Linked DNA regions of Homo sapiens: region 1 is linked to region 2. The links are contacts of gene promoters, found by promoter capture Hi-C in blood cells and fetal thymus (Javierre and others, 2016). All regions are on one chromosome and are shown on one strand. The core of a region is centred on a gene start or on the middle of the fragment in contact, and the rest is flanking DNA. Distances in the headings are between cores, read along the strand shown.

Region 1 (7,372 bases), core at 3,607-6,106, 210 kb after region 2:
TGGCTATTGAGATAATAGTAATGGATATTTTTGCCTTGTCCAATTTTCCTCCACAATCAAAGAAAACTGTGCTAAGCTGTTTAAAAAATACAAAGCAGAAGTGGCAGCCTCTTTTAGATTACCACTGGTAAAATTTCAAATCTATTTTCTCTATTAAGGGATTGATTGTTTTAAAGAATTAGGGATATGGCTATCTTTTCTACTGGTGCTAATTTGAGCCTTTTTGCCTTTCTGTCTTTGTTCCACAAGGCTGAGCTTCTCTTTAGATCACATTATTCATATTGCAAGGATCTTCTGAGAGAAATAACACCATCCTCTGGCCAGCCACTCACTCTGCAGGAGTTCCTAGAGCTCCCCAGTTTCTTTCCCTATTGCCTGAGTAGTCTATCTCACGCCTGTTAGTCTCACAGTTTAAATACAAACACACAAAGACTCTTGCAGGCAGCTTGGGTACCTTTCTTTGACCCCAGCCGACTGGACATAGAGAACAAGAGCTAGAGAGAACAAGAGCTAGAGTGACCGACAGATCATGTGTGGAGACAGCATGGGGCACCTGAGCCCAGCACCATCCAGGATCAGACAGAACTTAAGCCATGAGCTGCCTAGAAAGATCTTGGGAGGGCACTGGGTTTCCCAGTATGGAAAAAAGAAAAATGTGGCTCACAAGTCTAAGCTAAGGTCTTTACAGTACTGGGCCATAAACAGGATCTGAAAAGAAACTGCAGAAAATGTTAGATATGCTTTATCTTTGTTTTAAAAATATTATTTACTATAATGGCTTAAAATATGTTGATTTAAATATATGATATTTGATACCTTTGTAATATATATAATAAAGTGTATAATAAAATATAACTATATAATTAAAATAGATGATATTTTAAAACCTCTCTAATAAACCATTTACGTGTGTGTGTGTGTGTGTGTGTGTGTGTGTGTGTGTGTGTGTGTGTATACATGCCTTTGTTTAACAGGTTTAATTGCTTTCCTTTCTTCAGGAACCAGAGTGAGGGTACTCGAACAGTGACTGCCATCTGGTGGTTAACCAGAATCATCACCTTGTGTAGCCTGATGGTTACTAAGATGTCCACTCTTGACTCACATGGCATGCACTCGCAGCAGGGGACCAGTTGAAGGATGTCTGACTTTGGAGGGTCACCAGTTGAAGGATGTCTGATGAAGGAGCCTAGCGAAATAACCCTTTGCTTCTACCTGAATGGGTTGTTCACTCTGGATTCTGAGCCTGCAGCCAGCTCCAAAATGGGGCCTCTGAAGAAAAGATTTGAGTTGCTCTTGTGTCTTAGTCAAAGATCTACATCCCTACCAGTGGGTAACCAAGACTGTGAATAAGCACACACCAACAGGGGCATGTGGTGACATGGAGCCTGAAATAAACTGCTCTGAATTGTGTGACAGTTTTCCTGGCCAGGAGCTGGATCGGAGACCCCTTCATGATCTCTGCAAGACAACAATTGTAAGTGAGCAGCCACAGGATGCCAGGGCTGCTCAGATGTATGTGGTGGTGGTGGTGTTGGGGAGGAGGAGGTGGAGGGAAAGGGGGATGAGGAAGGGGAGGAGTGGGAGGAGAAACTGCTCATGCAGGATACATATTTCCCAGCACTTGGTGACGATGGGGCAGTTTGTTTTTGACCTATAGAAGATCCTTCATTCCTAACAGCTCCTCCTTATTCTGTCCTCAGACATCTTCCCACCACAGCAGTAAGACCATCTCTTCATTATCTCCTGTCCTCTTGGGTATTGTTTGGACTTTTCTCAGCTGTGGACTTCTGCTGATACTTTTCTTTCTTGCCTTTACAATTCACTGCAGGAAGAACAGGTAAGCAGCCCAGTTTCTCATCACACATAGCTCAATCATGAAATCCCAAATGTTAGTATCTTTTGGCAGCACAAGCCACTATCTGGTCTCCCACTACAGGATTAAACCACATGAGACATTCCCTCTGAAATAGTCTACCTGTTGAGAAGGGGAAAGATCTAGGTCGGTATTGTGCTAACTACTGCAAGGGTATCCAAAGAAGAGAATGAAGAGTCTCTCTCTATAATGGAGGTACAATCCTTCTGAGAAGATGAGGTATCTGTATTTAAAATGAAGACCATGTAGAGGATTCCAAAACAACACAAAAACTTGAGGACAGCACAGCAGAACCAGTCTGGGTGAGTTAGGGTTTCTGCAAAAGCAGTGAAGCACTGCTACCTGGCTATTTGCTAGATAATTCTGGCTGACTAGAAAGTCATCAGCTTATCAGGGTAAGTATGGCTCCCAGGATTCGCAAAAGAAGCAAAATGGTGACTTTTTTCTGAAGGGACTTATAGCACCTTGCCTTGGATGCAATTTCATCCTTCCTCAGGGCCCATCCCATCTCTCCCACCCCCACACTGTACCCTCATCCTACCACAGCCGTCCCAGGGTGCCTCATGAGAAGCCCTGCTCCAGCCCTCTCCTTAGCCCACAGCTGACTTCTAGATGGAGCCCACAATCAGAAATTAACAACTTCCTCAAACCAGCCAAACTCGTCCAGCCCCACTCCAGCCTTACCCTGTGTGGTGACCAAGCATGTCGTGCTCCATTGCCTGTGGATTTGACACTCAGATGAGAATTGGTCAGTTGCATTTTGGGATGCTGTTTTGCCATGTTAGGCATGGAGGACGTGGAATTGTTAAGCAGCAGTGATTGGTTGTTGGGTCAGCCTCAGCATGGTGGTGATACGTGGCACTCCAACTAGAGTATACCCCAGAGACTGCCTCAGCCACTTTTCATTCTGTTCCTCAAGCACACTACGCTGACTCCCATCTCAAGGCTTTTGTACTTACTGTTCCTGTACTGTTCCCTCTGCCTGGAAGTCCTCCTCAGATATTCCCATGACTAGTTCCTTCTCATCTTATAGGTCTTGGCTCCAGTGTCACCTCTTCAGAGACACCTTCCCTGATCATCCTATCTAAAGTAGTATCCCTACCCATGATCACCCCCTCATCTCATTCCATATCCTATCAGCCTGTTTTATGTTCCTTATAGCAAGCATAGTCTGCTATTACCATATTTGTTGATTTACCTGTTGATTGTCTGTATCCCCTACCAGAATGGAATTCTGTGAACACAGGGACTTTGCCTGTCCTCTTGTGCCCACCACTGTGTCTCCAGCATTTAGAACAGACTCTGGGATATAATAGGTGCTCAGTAAATATGCATCCAGTGATCCTGGGAGGAAAGAGATTTAAATCCCAACGGTGGCTGCTGCCAACAAAGTGACTGGGAAAATCATGCATTTCAAGGTTAGAGAACTATGGAGTACAGTCTTTTCAGCTGTAACATGTTTCTATAATGCAAAGTAATACTCAATTGGTATTACCCAGTTGGTAATAAGAAAATTATGTCATTGATTCATATGTTACTTTTCCCCCAGCAAATCAATAATTTAAACATTCAGGGGCAAGCTTTCTCACAGCTAGTAAAGGAAGCTTTAAGCTTGGCAGTTCCTTCCCTTGGTGCAAGTAGTGTCTGGCTTAATGGCTTAAGAACTTGTGTCTTCCCTACAAGATGAGGCTGTAGGAGTAGATGAAGAAGTGGAGAAGACATTTGCCTTATGTTTAAAAACTTCAGTTGATTGTTAAAGAAAGCACAGATCCAGAGCAGATTTTTAATTTTTTGACAATGTTATCTACTGGAGATGAATGCCCCTGAGGACCTGTGTCTTGAGATTTAAGACTGTAGAAGTTGACTTTGATCCTGGGTACAAATGCTAGTGGACATTTACTGGGTGGTAGTGTTTTAGTTGGAATAATTAATATTTTATTAATACTCTTGTTACAAAGTTAACTGTTTTGAGTGTTATGACCCCATCCTATTTTCCCCACAGTCTATTATTTTTACATATAATTTTGCAGAATACAAGGTTTATCAAGTATTTATATATCCTGTTAAAACAGGAACACCTGTAAACAGCATTATACTAGAAACCCTTATATTTCTTTCACTCTATTAAATATTTTGCTGCCTGTTTTGTTTGCAGTGGGAGCATGACTTGGCATAAAGAATAAAATATTAAGAGGTATTGTGAATAAAAACACATTTTACAATTAAGTGGCTTACAAGGTCAGACAAGGAAAGATAAAATAACCCAGTTTCAAAAGTGTTTTATTGAACAATACATTTGTTAAAAGATGCAGCATCACAATCAGATGCTTTATTTCGTTACAATTCTGTGGTCTCTAAATTTGGGACTGTGTGTGTGAGTATTCATGTGTGTGTATATGCAAGAAAGGAGAGGAAGAAAAATATTTTAACACAATAAAAATAATACAAAAATGTTTAAATCCAGTTGCAGATATTGAATTTTTATAAAAATTTCAAAAACCAGTAAAGATAAAGAAAACTTGAACACTATCAACCAACTTGACCCAATTGACATTTATATTACCTTTCACCCAACAACAGCAGAATACATATTCTTTTGAAGTACACATGGAACATTTACCAAGATATATCATATTCTGGGCCATAGAAAAAGTCTCATTAAATTTAAAAGGGTTCAAGCCGGGTGCAGTGGCTCATGCCTGTGATCCCAGCACTTTGGGAAGCTGAGGCGGATAGATCACCAGAGGTCAGCAGTTTGAGACCAGCCTGGCCAACATGGTGAAAACCCATCTCTACTAAAAATACAAAAATTAGATGGGTGTGGTGGCATGCACCTGTAGTCCCAGCTACTTGGGAGGCTGAGGCAGGAGAACCCGGGAGGCAGAGGTTGCAGTGAGCTGAGATCATGCCACTGCACTCCAGCCTGGGTAACAGAGCAAGACTCTGTCTCAAAAAAAAAAAAAATTAAAGGATTCAAGTCATATAAACTATGTTTTCTGACAATGAAATTAAAATGGAAATCAATAACAGAAAGATCTCTGGAAAATCCTGAAATATTTAGAAACTACATAGAACACTTTAATCCATGGTCAAAAAAGAAATCAAAAGGAAAACTAGAAAATATTGACCAGAATTAAAATGAAAATACAACCTAGATTTGTTGGATGCCACTAAAGCAGTATTAGGGGGAAATCTAGAGAACTAAACCCCATATTAGAAAAGAAGAAATGTCTCAAATCCATGACCTCATCTTCCACCTTACAAACAGAAAAAAAGAGCAAATGAGACCCAAAGTAAGTAGAAGAAAGGAAATAATAAAGATCAGGTTAGAAAATAAAATAGGAAACAGAAAACAATAGGAAAAAAAAGTCAGTAAAGCCAAAAGCTATGAAGATAAGTAAAACTGATCAACCTCTAGCCAAAGTGATCAGAAAAAAAAGAAATAAGATACAATTACCCAAATAAGGAATGGGAGAGGTGACATCACTATAGATTCTGTAGATATGACGGATAAGGTAATGTTGTAAACAACTATGGTAGATAGCCTCTAAGATGTTCTTCGATGATTCCCACCTCCTTGTAGTCACACTCCTATGAAGTCCTCTCTCCTTGAGTATGAGGTGAACTTACTAACTTGCTTTTTAGTGAGATGTCGCTTTTGGCATTAGTTCACAAAAACTGTGGCTTCCACCTTAGAGCTCTCTCATTGTCCCACTAACTCCCACTCTGTGGGAGGCCAGCTGTTGTGTTATAAGCTGTCCTGTAAAGAGGCCCCCATTGGCAAGGAACTGATGTTTCCAGCCTGCAGCCAGCAAGTACCTGGGGCTTGCTAACAGCCATGTCAGTGAACTTTGAAACAGGTGACACCTTGACTGTATTGTTGTGACACCTTGACTGTATTCTTATGTGAAAACCTGAGCCACAGGCACCCAACTAAGCTGTGACTTAGAAATATTACCAGTTCAACTTCAAACTCTTCTAAAAAAACTGAAAATAAAGAAGTAATTCCCAACTCATTCTATGAGGGCAGTATTACCCTGATTTCAAAATTGAATAGGAAAAAGAAGAAGGAGAAGGAGAAGAAGGAGAAGGAGAAGGAAGAGGAGGAGGAGAAGGAGAAGGAGGAGGAGGAGGAGGAGGAGAAGAAGGAGAAGGAGAAGAAGAAGAAGAAGAGGAAGAGGAAGAGGAGGAAGAAGAAGAAGAAGAAGGGAGGAGGAAAGCTATAGGCTAATATGTCCTATAAACATAGATTCAAAATTTTAAACAAAATTTTAACAAATTGAGTATCACCAAATGTTAAAAAGAGAATACATCATTGTGACAACGTGAGGTTTATCCCTGGAATGTAAGCTTTGTTTAATATCTAAAGATTGATCAATAACTCATGACATTTACCAACTAAAAAAGAAAACTATATGATCATCTCAGTAGATACAGAAAAATTTTTGACAAACTTCAACATCAATTTCTGATAAAGTCTCAACAAACAGCATAGAACAGAACTTCCTCCCCATTGCGCAGCACAGCTGCTGTGGCAGATTGTGGCCAGACTGCTTCTTTAAGTGGGACCCCGATCCATCCCCCCTCACTGGGCAGGACCTCCTTGTGAGAATTTCAGCAACTCCAGCCAGGGTTTTATGGACAGAACTCTGATCTCTCTGGGACAGAGCCCCTCAGGGGAAGGGTGGCCACAGTCTCTGTGGTTCAGCCAACTTAGCCTTTCCTGCCTGCTGGCTCTGGAGAGTCTGGGCAGTCTGGACAAAAGGGGATCCCCCCAGTGCAGTGCACCCAGTCCCCCAAGGGGCAGCCAGACTGCTTCTTGAGGCAGGTCCCTGATCCCATTCCTCCTGACTGGGTGAGAACTCCCAAAGGGATCCCCAGACACCTCTTACAGGAGTGTTTGGGCCAGCGTCAGTTTGGAGCAGGCAGCCATCTTTGCTGTTTTGCACCCTTTGCTGGTGATAGTGATACCTCCAGGTGCAGAAGGGACCCAGGTGATTAGGGTCTGGGGTGGACCACTAGCAAACCACAGCAGCCCTGCAGAAGAGGAGCCTGACTGTTAAAAGAAAAACAAAGCAGCAACAACAACATAAACAAAAAAGATCCCCAAAAAAACCCATTGAAAGGTCAGCAACCTCAAAGACTGAAGGTAGATAAGCCCACAAAGATAAGAAAGAATCAATGCAAAAATGCTGAAAACTCAAAAAGCCAGAGTGCCTCTTCTCCAAATGATTGTAATACCTCTCCAGCAAGGGCACAGAACTGGGCTGAGACTGAGATGGCTGAATTGACAGAAGTAGCCTTCAGAATGAGGGTAATAACGAACTTTGCTGAGCTAAAGGAACATGTTCTAACCCAATGCAAAGAAGCTAAGAATCATGATAAAACATTACAGGAGCTGATAACCAGAATAGCCAGTTTAGAGAGGAACATAAAACACCTAATGGAGCTGAGAATCACAACGTGAGAACGTCACAATCCAATCACTAGTGTCTATAG
Region 2 (7,168 bases), core at 3,401-5,900:
GGTACTGTAGAGCGAAGGTGGGTATTGTTACCTGAAGCATGGCGAAAGCAAGCTGGATGCGAAAGGAATCAATGTGTACTGAATATCGTGACATTAAGACACTCTACAGATCTGGATGGAAGATGTGTACCATTGGCTCACCCACCAAATTACTCATTTTCCAGTCCTATAAACCATTCATGCGAAGGTTTTTTTGTTGAAATTTGGCTCATAAATTCCCATCTGCTCTGGAAATCAAAATTAATTGAAAGGTTTTTTGTTTGTTTGGCTGGTTGGTTAGTTTTTGTTTGTTTGTCTGTTTTGAGGCAGGGTCTCTCTCTGTCACGGAGGTTGGAGTAAAGTGGTGCAATCATGGGTCACTGCAGCCTCCACCTCCCAGGATCAAGTGATCTTCCCACCTTGGCCCCCTACTCCCCCCGTAACTGGGAATACAGGGGTATGCCACAACACCCAGCTGATTTTTATATTTTTTATAGAGACGGGGTTTTGCCACATTTGCCCAGGCTAGTCTCGAACCCCTGGGCTCAAGTGATCATCCCACCTCAGCCTCCAAAAGTGCTGGGATTACAGGTGTGAGCCACCATGCTGGTCCCAAGTTATTATATTTTTATATTTTCAACAAATGAGTAAATAAGCCACTGGAATTCTGTCTGAAGATTTTTAAACAGGTTAGAAAATTTTGTGTAAGTTTTTAAAATGTGCATACACGAGAGTTTTTATGGTGCCACACTTTTATTGTTTTGGATAACAAAATAGCCTAATGATAAGACATTTCCAAATATCTCATTTCAAAATATTTTCTCCACTGCATAGTTTATTTTTGTCTTTTGCTTTATTTATTGTAGAGTTAACCATACGCCACAGCACAGTTTTATCATCAGTACCTGTAAGAGCTCTCTAGTGAATTATTTCCGTAGTAATACATCTTATTTATATGCTTACTGTGTACCAGACACTATTCTAAGTACTTTACATATTGATACATTTAATCTACACAATAGCTCTATGAAATCAGTACAATTATCACGATTTTACAGATGAGGCAACTGAGATGCAAGGGGTTAAGTAACTTGCCCAAGGTTACATAATAAGTAGTAAAGCTAAGATTTACTACCAAGGCAATTTTGTACCAAGGCAGTCTGTCTCATAAACCCATGCTTTTAATTGCTACAGTACACCACAAAGATTGCACTAGTCACATGCTAACACTGATATTGTCCAACTGTCTGATTTTTGCCACTGTGATGAGTGTAAAGTGACATTTATAATTTACTGTATAACTTTGGACAAACTACTTAAACTCTGTGTGTGTTTCTTCATCTGTATATTGGAGATAATAAAATAATACTGATTTCAAATGGTTGTTGTGCAATTTAAATAATAGTAGTGATGTTGAGTATCTTTTCTATATTTATTGTCCATTTGGGGTTCCCCTTTTGGGAATTGCCTATTCATACCTATTGCCCTTTTTTATTGGGTTTTCTTTTTCTGATTGATTTGCAGGGTGTGTGTATGTGTGTGTGTTATGAGTTACATGTCAGTTTTAGACATTTATATCTCCTTCTATCATTTTGTCTATGGTGCCCTCAGTTGAACAGGAATCTTTCATTTCATTTTGATATACTCAAATCCATTAATTGTGTTCCAAATGTAGAGAGGATAAAGATATGAAAAACATTGTTTTTGCTCTAAGCAACTTAAAACTAGCTGGAGAATCAAGAATAACTATGAGAACAAGTGTTAAACATTGTATAGCAGTCTGCAATATAATGCCCCAAGTTGTAAGGCTGTGTAGCCAACAGTATAAACTTGGGAAAGTATCTAAATCTTCCTGAGCTTCAGTTTTATTTGGAAAACGGAAGCAATAAAAAAGACCTTTCCATTTACTGTATTTTTTAAATTTTTATTTTTTATTGTTATTATTTTTTTGAGATGGAGTCTCTCTCTATTGCCCAGGCAGGAGTGCAGTGGCACAATCTCGGCTCACTGCAACTTCTGCCTCCCGGGTTCAAGCAATTCTGGTGCCTCAGCCTCCCAAGTAGCTGGCACCACAGGTGCCCACCACCATACCCATCTAATTTTTGTATTTTTAGTGGAGACGGGGTTTAATCATGTTGGCTAAGCTGGTCTCGAACTCCCGGCCTCAAGTGATCCGCCTGCCTTGGCCTCCCAAAGTGCTGGGATTACAAGGCATGGGCCACCGTGCCCAGCCTCCTTTCTATCTATTGTGAAAATTAAATAAAATAAGAGATGTTGAATGGCTTTCATAGTACCTGGTGTATAGTACCAACTACAATTTAGATGCAAAGCCGATCATGAAATAATAATGGCTATCACATACAGAGGTCTACTACCTGCCAGGCACTTTTTATATGCATCTGCTTAAATTTCACAACTCCCTGCAAGGCATTATCACTGCCATTTGTCAGAGGCAGAAACCTAGGTTCAGAGGGCTTATTATTTGATGCAAGTCAGGCCATGCAGCTAGTAAATGGCAGTGATAGGATGGAAAGCCAGATTGGTTTGACCTCAAACCTCCTGTGCCTTCTACCATGCCAAGCTGTTGTCAGAAAAGATATGAAGGAAGCAAACTTGACGTGGTTCCTGAAAACAAAACAAACAAACAAACCCAAGCATTTTAGTAGATAAGAGGAAGGGAGGAAAGATGATACCAGATTCTGAGAGGGTGCAGTGGATCTGCAAGGGATGCAATGTATTGTGCGTTATTCGAGGGCAGAACTTTATCCACAATAGTTCCCTTCAATCCTTGCACAGTGACCAAGACAGAGTATCTGGTGCGGAACATCTATTCCCTAATCTTATTACCATAACAAGGGAGCAGGAGTAAGTTGTCTGACTGGAGAGTTTGAAAGAACTGGGGATGTGTCACTCTACCCCCTCAAGTTTGGGGAGCAGGCATGTCCCAGGAGGCACATATTTTCTGCTTTTCCATGCAGTTTAGTTTTTACACAGGCAGGTTTTCCAGCTCTGCTTGTGACTGAGTGGACATGTTCAATTCTGGGCCCGCTGTCCCTGCAGATCTAAAGCCATGGCTGCCATTCCAGCCTTTAGCAGAGACAAAGCTGACATTTTGCTCTCCATAAGTCTGACTCCTGTTGCTATCTCAGTGGATTCTGAACTTACATGGGGACCATGGGTATTATCTTGAAGCCCCCTAAAGCCACAACAGTGGGCACTCAACAAACCTTGGCAGCAGAGTGAGTATGACAAGTTCAGAGGACAACGAGGAGATGGGCCTGCTTTGAGCGGAGGAAGTATGCTGATGTAGTTGAAGAGAAGTTAGATGGACAGGGTGGGCCCAGTAATGCAGGGCTTATAAGAAAGGCAGAGTTTGGATTTGATGTGGGTAGAAGAACGCTGAAGTTTCTGAGTAGAGGAAGAACATGAACACGAGGAAGACAATGTTTAAAATAAGGGAAAGAATATGACAATGGATTGCAGTGGAGACTACAGGGGAGAGCCTGGAGTCAGAGGACAACGAAAGGAGGTTTCCAGAATTTCTGAGTGAGGGAGGATGAAGGTCTGGCCTAGGAAAGTGGACATGTGAACGGAGGCGAGGGGATGCATATGAGATCTCAGCGGCTAAACTGCCAGGCTATGGGTACAAGCCGGCTCTGAGAAAAGGAGATAGGTTTGAAGGCAACCACCCTGAAAGAGGTAGATAAGCAGGCCCTGAAGCTGGGGGAAGTGAGGCTTAGTCTTGGGCATGTGAAATCTGAGTTGCTAAGTGGATCTGCTCTCCTTACTAGTTATGGCAGGAAAGGCGCCTTAATTAGGAGCATTTTAGGGAGTTAACCCTGTCAAAGAGGTAGCACACTTTCGAAGGCCAAGGGCTGGGAAGAAGGTGGTGAAGATGGCAATCCTGAACACAGAGGCTACTTGGGATGACAGGGATGGGAGGAGGGACACAGGTGATGAGTGAGTGGGCGGAAGAGAGGAGGGGGACACCGCTCCCCGGCCCGAGGGAAGGAGGGGATGAGGCTGCCGGCAAACGCTGGACTCAGGATCTTCCCAGCAGAGCAGGGCGGCCGCCACCTCACCCGGGACAATGCACTGTAGAACCCACAGCAGCCTTCCCCACGCCGGCCGGTCTTCCCGGCCCTGCGCCCACTTCCCGGTGCCCCGCTGCCCTGCTGCCGTGACCCCGGGATGCGGGGTCTCCTCTGCCTCCCTGGGCCTCCCCCTTCAGCCATGGGGGGCGGCTCCGCTTCCTAGGCCGCGGGACGTCTTTTCCTCCAGGTTCCAGTCCCGGACCTTCCCGGGCCCCCCACGGCACCGCCCACCTGGCCACCGCCGCAGCCCGCCCGGGCCGCCGCCAGCCAGCAGCCCCTCCCGGGGTGGGGTTTCCCTTCCCCCTACCCCTTTGTGGCAGGGACCCACGGGACACCCCCTCTGCCTCCGCTCCACGTCCAGGGGGCCGAAGGGGCGCCGGACGAGGGACCGTGCGGAGAGAGGGGTTCGGCGGCGCCAGGACTCCCGCGGGCTCCCCGGAGCAGGGGTCGGAAGGAGGGGGAGCGGGAGCCGCGGGGGCCGCTGCAGCAGAAGGGGGAGGAGAATGGGGAGGAGCTGGGGGGGCAGGCAGGCGGGGAAGGAGAGGTCTTAAGGGGCGGCGAGGGGAGGTCGCATTTCCTCCGAGGCTGGCGATCGGCGGAGCTCCCACCTCCGCTTACAGCTCGCTGCCGCCGTCCTGCCCCGCGCCCCCAGGAGACCTGGACCAGACCACGGTGAGCGCAGGGCGCACGGCGCGGAGGCCGGACTCTTCGGGCGGCCGGGGGTGCTTGGGCGGCCGGAGCGAGCCTGCGGGACCCGAGCAAGTTTCCCAGGTCAGCGCGGGGCCCGGCGCCTTCAGACTCGCTCTCTTCTCTCTTCCGCAGATGTGGAAACGCTGGCTCGCGCTCGCGCTCGCGCTGGTGGCGGTCGCCTGGGTCCGCGCCGAGGTAGGCGAGGGGCCGAGGAGTCCGAACTCGGTCCCCGGGGCCTCTTGGGTCTGCGCGCTGGGCGGGTGGGCGCGCGTCCTGGGGATGCTCTCCCGGGGTGGCGCTGGGAGTTTCGGTCCTTGGGGTGTGCTGGGGTGGAGCTGGGGCAGTAATGCTGCTTACGAAACTTAAATCTTTAAAGCAGGAAAAGTAGTTCGGGCCGTAAGCGGGAGCCCCGCCGCGGCTAACATGGAGGGAGAGCGGGGAGGAGGAGAGGGGACGGGCTGGGCCGACGGGGACGAGGCGGCGACTGGAGCAGCAGCGAGTTCAAAAAGGCGCCTCAGTTCCGTCCTTCACTTCAGAGGAGACTGAGAGTAGTTGGGGACTTTTCCCTCCCAAGTCTGTCTCCTGGGGGCGGGGGCAGAGGAATCGGGATTCTTCTTTTGGGGCAAAATTAATTTTCCTTTCTCTCTTTTAAAGTGAGATCATGATTCTCTGAAATGTATTTTCTTCTTTGTGAAGTGTCCTCGGGTTTTGTGTTATCATCTGGGCAATGTAACGGCCTTTTCCCAAGTGTTCCCTGTAACGTTGCGCAAGTGTAAGAGAAGATCCATTGCTCTGCTCTTTGGGGGCTCGAGTTTCCAGTTAAAGCATTTCAGCGCTTGTTTTTTTGTACCAATTTTTTCAACTCTAACGACCTTCCTGAGACACTACAAACAAACCAACAAACTCTTTGCTCAGAAGCCGCTCCATTAACTCAAAGGTTTATGGACAGAAAATAAACAATTCTAAATTCCCCGGGCTCCAGTCTCCAGGAAAGTGAGGTCAGAAACTAAACATTTGATAATTATGGCAGGAAATATGGAAGGAATTAAAAAGCATGAGGGAGAAGAAATGGAATGCACATTACAAAAGAAATAGCTCCCTGGTGGGTGGTTTATGCTCCCTGTTTGAATTTTTTCCTTCATATTACAGTTTAACCACACCCTTAGCATCGCAGCTTGACTCTGCCCAAAAAAGTCATAAATGCATACAAGGTCTTCACAATTTTTAAAAAATACGCATTGTACTGAATTCTCATTTAATTCACTACTACGTTGTTGATTGAGGTGGAAACTCAATCAACTGTTTTTACTGCCAATGAAATAAAAGTAGCTAATATTTATTAAATATCTGCTATGTTGTAATAAAATTCCATTTTAATGACAGATAAATTGAGTCAGCGAAGGTTACCCAATGCTCTCAGCTATTAAATGCTAAGGGTGGGATTTGAACCCAAACAGTCTGGCTCCGGACCCAAGGCTCTTGACCATTAACCCACACCACTTCCAAGCACAATGGTTTAACATTTACCAAGTACATTTTTGTTTACCACACACTGGGCTGTGTACGTTACCTGCAGTTACTTCTTTTAAAGCTCCCAAACCCTGTAATGTAGGTTTTATTATCCCGATTTTACAGAGGAAGAAACAGGTTTAAGGAGATTAGGTAACTTGCCCAGGGTCATACAACTAGTTAGCTCTGAAGCAGGATCTGAACCTACCTCTCTTACCTTTGGAGCCCATCTTGAACTCCAGGTCTGCTTCTTATCCATCTGGTTTTCCAGGGTTTGCATTTGAGAGCGTATCCCCCTTCACTGGCTGATGTAGCCCTGGTTAAGAAACATTTCTCCATCCCCTGCTGTGGCCCTCAAAAGGCAGTTGCAGACCAGTGATGGATGAGGTGAATCCCTGGTTGGTTTTCCAGCAGGCTCAAGAATTGCCAGCCAGTGTGTGAAATCACTCAGTGAACTGGAATGCAAATATGAGGTGTGAGGAGGCTGTTGGTTGACTTACCAGGCTGTGTGGCCCAAGGTCTGGAATCTATTCTAGGCGGCCTGCAAGACACACACCCCTCCCAACCCCCTTCCACACAGGGAAAACTTATCCCTGGTAGGAAGTTCCCCCAGCAGCAATTTCCTGCTGGAGGTAGAAGAGCATCCAGTGCTCTCACATAATTCCCAGGCAAACTACAGGGAAGAAGGCAAAATAGAGAAGTACTGAGATGTGAAAACAGAGTGCGTTGGGGGAGAAAAGAGGCTGTGAACTCACAGTGTATGGAAATGGTTACAATGAAAAGAGTGAGGGGTAGGTATGAGCTAGGTTACATTTCATGGCTCCAGGTTATTAAGGATTATTATCTTTTAATTATTCCAACCTCCTGGTGCCTGGCCAAGTAAGATTTGGCAAGTT

What was found. The method cuts DNA at HindIII sites, captures the fragments that hold promoters and counts their contacts. A CHiCAGO score of 5 or more calls a contact.
Region 1: a contact is called between a fragment that was not itself captured here and the fragment with the promoter of FSTL1 in region 2, in 1 of 17 cell types (M2 macrophages). The highest score is 5.4, in M2 macrophages.

What each region holds. Positions count from the first base shown.
Region 1 is chr3:120,238,105-120,245,476 of GRCh38, reverse strand. It overlaps GPR156 (G protein-coupled receptor 156), which reads left to right. Exons shown (of 10, transcript NM_153002.3): 2 at 999-1,474; 3 at 1,701-1,837. The coding sequence starts at 1,379. Among named protein-coding and RNA genes, the nearest start is that of GPR156, 43 kb to the left of the region's middle. RefSeq lists an enhancer at 1,566-2,765. The HindIII fragment of the contact is 2,739 bases long and covers 3,487-6,225 here.
Region 2 is chr3:120,448,474-120,455,641 of GRCh38, reverse strand. FSTL1 (follistatin like 1) reads left to right here and starts at 4,650. Exons shown (of 11, transcript NM_007085.5): 1 at 4,650-4,745; 2 at 4,896-4,958. The coding sequence starts at 4,896. LOC124900546 (a long non-coding RNA gene) reads left to right here and starts at 4,988. Exons shown (of 2, transcript XR_007096030.1): 1 at 4,988-7,168. The HindIII fragment of the contact is 12,724 bases long and covers 1-7,168 here.